Linked DNA regions of Homo sapiens: region 1 is linked to region 2. Evidence: promoter capture Hi-C in 16 types of primary human blood cells and fetal thymus (Javierre and others, 2016). All regions are on one chromosome and are shown on one strand. The core of a region is centred on a gene start or on the middle of the fragment in contact, and the rest is flanking DNA. Distances in the headings are between cores, read along the strand shown.

Region 1 (2,700 bases), core at 30-2,529, 130 kb before region 2:
GTCTCTTTTCTGCCTACAGCCCAGTTCTTACTGGCTGCACTGGCTGCTGAGTTAGCATGCTGATTTCAGCTACTCAATGAACAAAATACTTTACATGACTCTCATAAACACGGTGACAAAGGAGAAAGGCAGGAGGAAGGGATTCTCAGGAGAAGGCCACTTGTCTACAGCTCCCTTCCTCTCCATTAACAGATCTCATCAATTTGATTCTCCCAAGACAACCAGTCTCTGTGGCCATTGTGTGGCCTGTATGAGGCCATGGGTATCAGGTGAGTCATGGCCAAGGAAACCAACGTAGAACTCTCTCCTACAGGCCCCTTTGCAAGGATGGTAAGGCAGCAGGTCCTCCTGTAGGGAGCTGCCACCCTCCTCTCCCCCTGTTCTCATGTGCCTGGCCAAGAGAGAGAGTTGAATGAGTAGACTGAGTTTGCCCTGCTCCAGCAGCTGGGAGAATAGGAGCGGCCAAGAAAATGTCCTCCAGATGCCATACATGGTCACCCTCACTGCCGCTGCAGTGAGGGGACTGCTCCACCACTCACCACCAGTTCTGAAACTGCTGCTTTTTGTGAGATGCAGTAACAGGCCAAAAACTCAGGGGAGAATAAAGAAAAATACCAGCTCATCTGTAGTGGATGCTGTAATGTGTCACCCAGACTCTGCTACAGTAATGAAGGCTCCTCCCTCCCTCAGCTTCTGAGAGGCTCTTGGCAGATGGCACTCAATTGTCAGGCCTCTTTGGGAGTTGCCTTGGCATATCCAAGGCAGGCAATATCAAATGCCTCATTGATGCAGGGATATAAAAGTCCAGCCCTCTCACCTCAGTTCAAGACAACTCTGAAGAGTCCTAACAGCCTGGTGGCTCTTCATAGAGGGTGGCTTTGTGGAGGCAACCTGCCACACTCCAACATCTCCCTCTTCTCAACCCTGCTTTCTTTCCTTTTCCTCCAGGGATGGTCCCAAGAGAACTCCCTGATGTAGGGAGTGTCCTGTGCAGGACACTCTCCCACTTGCTCTCCTTCCTGGGGATCCCACCTGCAACAACGCTCAAGGTGTCCAGACTGAGGATGACCTATCAAAGTGCACACCGAGCCACAGAAGGCTGCTCTCTTAATCTTTCAATGTCCAACACAATTCAGCTGTGATATCACTGGGCCCTGGTTGTTGATTAAAAGGTAGTTTACTTTCTCTCTCTTCTGTCATAATAGGTCTTTTGAAGCGTTCCACTTCTTCTGAAGTCAATTGCGGAAACTTTTATTTGCTGGAAAATCATCCATTTCTTCTAGATTTTAAAATTATTGCCAAAAGTTACATATACTCTTCTCTTGTAAGTATTTTAATTTCTCTTGTATCTGTGGCTGTGTCTGCTTTCAAATACTTATCTCTGAGACTGAACAGAAAAACAGAGCACTTATTGGTAATCAAGAGCAGGACACACCCAAAAAGGCTTTCAAAAGCTAAAATGTGGATTTCCCAACTACACAGCATAACAAGTGAAGGAAAGAAAAATGTGGCTACTGTTGAGACCTGAATTGAGTCAAATGGAAGTAATATATGCCAACACACAGAGCAAAACTATAAGACGATGAAAATGATGAAGACAAAAGCAAGAGTTGGGGAATGGATGCATGAACCTAACATTCAAGTATTGTGGCTTCAGAAGGAAAAAAAGGGGCTATATAGCAAAAAGATAATAATTCAGTAACAGGAGAAAAATTCTGAATGGAGAAGAATGAATTCTCTGGAAATGTGAAATATTAATCTTAAATAATCTGGAAATTGAAGGGAGATATTTCAAGGGAAATTCTTACAATAGCCTAAAACTAATAGCACGAAACAATTTCAGCAACACTATTTCAGCAGGGGCAGTGGGAGGGGAAGGAGGTTAGAGACATTCCAAATGTCCATCTCAGGACTGAGAGAAGGAGGGATGAAGGGGAGGATAACAGAGGAAGGTGTTCTAGTGGTCTCATCCCATGCGGGGAGGAAGGGGAGAAAGCTGTGGCAATGTCATACCTGGTGAAATAGTTGGTATCTTGTTTCAAAGAACAATAGAGAACTATATGTTTGATTATGAGTACAAGGAAATAGAAACCATTAATAAAATTTAACAGTTTTGCTAGACACTACACATTAAAAGATGAGTAACAATTTGACCAAACCAATGGGAAATAAGGGGAAAAAAGCAATTTAAAATAAAGTACAAATATAAAACAATAGGAAACAGAAAAGACAGGCAAGTACATTATTAAACATATAAATTATTAAATATGTGAACAAACTGAATCATCTCGTCAAAAGATACAGCTTATTCAGAGAGGGTTAAAAACCAAAAGCAGGCTGAACATAGTGGTTCACGCTTGTAATCAGCATTTTGGGAGGCTGAGGTGGGAACATTCCTTGTAGCCAGACCTACAAAACCAGCCTGGGTAACACAGTGAGACCCCATCTCTACAAAAATAAAATAAATAGCTGAGTGCGGTGGCACACACCTTTATCCCCAGCTACTCAGGATGCTGAGGCAGGAAGATCACTTGAGTCCAGGAGTTTGAGGCTGCAGTGAGCTATGATGCAGTTTCATTGCACTCCAACTTGGGTAAGAAAGTGAGACCGTGTTTCAAAAAAAGAAAAAAGAAAAGAAAAAACCTACAACATTTATACCCTTAAGGGTATAGATACACTTAAATTGGTGACAACGGATTC
Region 2 (2,700 bases), core at 87-2,586:
GTGAGCGCGGCCTCGGCGCATCGGGAAGCGGAGATACTGTGGCACCGAGGCGCGTTCATTCCCGGGGCTCGCAGGGTAGCCCGCGGGTGGAGAGAAAGGAGGCTGGTTCCCTGGGAGGTTCAGGGCGCGGGCGAGGGTTTACGGGGGCCGGTGAGTGTAGGGGTCACTGACCTGCCCGTTCTTGCAGAGGTCCGCCCACATGCTGGTGCCGTCGCCGCCGCGCATGAGGATGTGGTAGGTGAAGAAGTAGATGCCGCGTACCTGGCAGCTGAACTTGCCCGTGGTGGGGTCATAGTGATTGCCGAGGTTGGTGACCACGTCATCGAACTTCAGCACCTCATAGCCTTCGTGGGGGCTCTTGAGACCCACATAGAAGGCGATCTTGGGGCCGCTGAAGGTGGCGCTCAGCGCACTGGTCACTTCACCCTCGGAATCGCCACCTACCCCGGCCCCGCCGCCCACCACCCCGACGCCGCTGGCCGTGCCCGCCGTCAGTTGCAGCCCTGGCAGCCCGGGCCGCCCCGAGTCGCCCTTCTCTCCCGGAGGGCCCCTGGGTCCAGGCGGGCCCGGCTCTCCAGGGGGCCCCCGCGGCCCTGGCTTGCCCGGTCGCCCCGGGTCGCCCTTGGGTCCCTGGATGAAAGGAGGAGGAGGGTTGGCGCTGAGGTCCTGCATGACTTCCAGGGCGGCGGTGCTGGGTCCGGGTGGCTGCGCCTTTGCACCCGGGGGCTCCCCGCCGGGCGCGGCAGTGTAAGGGTCGCAGATCATGCGGCAGGTGCCCATCATCTCATAGTGCGCGGCGCCTCGGGGCGCCGCCTGCAGCAGCAGCGGCACGGCGATGAGCAGCCCGAGCGCCATGGCCAAGAGTACGCCGACGGCCGCCAGGCAGGCACGCCGCCGCCGCTGCCACAGCCGGGAGGCGACCGCCACCAGCTCCTCCTTGCCGCCCGGGGAGGTAATGGTGGGGCGGCGCGGGCGGCCCCGCTCCCCGCGCTCGGGGACCGGCTCCGCGGGTCCTGGCCGCGCCCCCGACGTGGCGACCCCCAGCCCCGGCTACCCAACTACTTCAGCGAGAGGCGCCGGGACCTCTGAGCCTGGGCCCACCGCGCTGGGGCTGGTCGGGAGAGCCGCGGACGCCCGCGCGCATGACGTGGGGCACACAAGACGAATCCGGCGCCCCGAGGGTCCGGCGCCGGCCAGGGAGTGCTTGCGCTGGCCGGGGAGTCTGCTTGCGGCGTCCGGCGCTGGCTCCGCGGCGCTGCCTCCCGCCAGGCTCCGCTCCGCTGGGTTTAGTGGGGCTCCTAGCGCAGTGAGGGCGCCCCGGCTCCGCGGCGCGCTCTGCTGTGCTCTCTCGCTGTTCGCTGGCTCCCGCGCGGAGGGGGGACCCCGCTACCCTGACGTAAGGAGTCCGGGGCTGAGCGGCGGAGGCGGCGAAGCAGCGCGCGCTGCCATCACTCGGGAGACGGAGCCCTCATGTCATCAGCCTCCTATCTGGCGGCGTCCTCGGCAGAGGCGGTGAAGGCGCGGTTCCCCCTGGCGGCTCCCAGGAGCCACAAGTGGGCGCAGCGGGCGCGGTCCCAAGCCGGGGCACATCGGACACACCCACCCGCGGCCACACTCACGCGCCCCCCACCGATAACACACACAGACACCCACGCACGCAGTGGCGGGGCACGCACAGCCACCCCCACATGGCCACGAAAGCAGCTGGAATCCAGGTGTCAGCAGGGCTCCTCTGGGGTCACCTAATCCATCCCCTGGCCTGCAAAGAGGATCAAACCTCAACCCACCGAGTCCAGGAGAGTCCCGTGAGGTCCAGCGGGAAGGAGTTTCTGAAAGACCTCCTGAGTTATTTCTTCAGAATTGAATAGATCTCGCTTCTGGAAGATCTTTCGCAAACCTAGACTAAGGACTCCAGACTCTTAAACAGGCTCCCGTAGAGCACCCCACTAACCTCTGAGGTGACTCTAAAAAGCCCAAGGCTCCCAATACAAGAATATTTGCGGCCGGGCGCAGTGGCTCACGCCTGTGATCCCAACACTTTGGGAGGCCGAAGCGGGCAGATCACCTGAGGTTGGGAGTTTGAGACCAGCCTGACCAACATGATGAAACCCCGTCTGTACTAAAAACACAAAATTAACTGGGCATGGTGGTGCATGCCCGTAATCCCAGCTACGCGGAAGGCTGAGGCAGGAGAGTCGCTTGAACCAGAGAGGCAGAGGTTGCGGTGAGGCGGGATCGTGCCATTGCACTCCAGCCTGGGCAACAAAAGCAAAAGTCCATCTCAAAAAAAAAAAAAAAAAAAAGGAATATTCGCCTCAGACCTTTTCTTCCACCAGAAAATGGCTGGCCCTTGTCCTCTGCGTGAAGCTGGTGTAGAAACCAAATGCTTGATGCCGGCACTTGGCAGTGATCATGGTGCACTCAGCTTCTACTCCAAGCCCGGCCACTGCCAGGCAGATGCATGGGCACATTCCCTTGGACATCCCCAGCTTCCTCCTCCTGAGATGGGTTTAGTTATTTTAGAAAATAGTCCAAATAGTCCAAAGCCATTCTGAGCCAGTCTTGAATAAACCATGGCCTCAGATGAGAGCAGAATAGTCTATCTCCAATGTAGCATGTGAGGCTAAGGAAGGATGAGAGGCCCGCCGGTGTGGGAGAGACTTCCAGCGGAGAAATCAAAGCCCCAGCTTCTGCTCTTGC

What was found. Contacts are between HindIII fragments. The CHiCAGO score rates a contact against its expected background, and 5 or more counts as called.
Region 1: a contact is called between a fragment that was not itself captured here and the fragment with the promoter of C1QL2 in region 2, in 1 of 17 cell types (M2 macrophages). The highest score is 5.7, in M2 macrophages.

What each region holds. Positions count from the first base shown.
Region 1 is chr2:119,029,520-119,032,219 of GRCh38, forward strand. No RefSeq gene overlaps it. Among named protein-coding and RNA genes, the nearest start is that of MARCO, 89 kb to the left of the region's middle. The HindIII fragment of the contact is 3,264 bases long and covers 1-2,700 here.
Region 2 is chr2:119,157,415-119,160,114 of GRCh38, forward strand. C1QL2 (complement C1q like 2) reads right to left here and starts at 1,337. Exons shown (of 2, transcript NM_182528.4): 1 at 172-1,337. The coding sequence starts at 855. RefSeq lists an enhancer at 1-515. The HindIII fragment of the contact is 3,837 bases long and covers 1-2,700 here.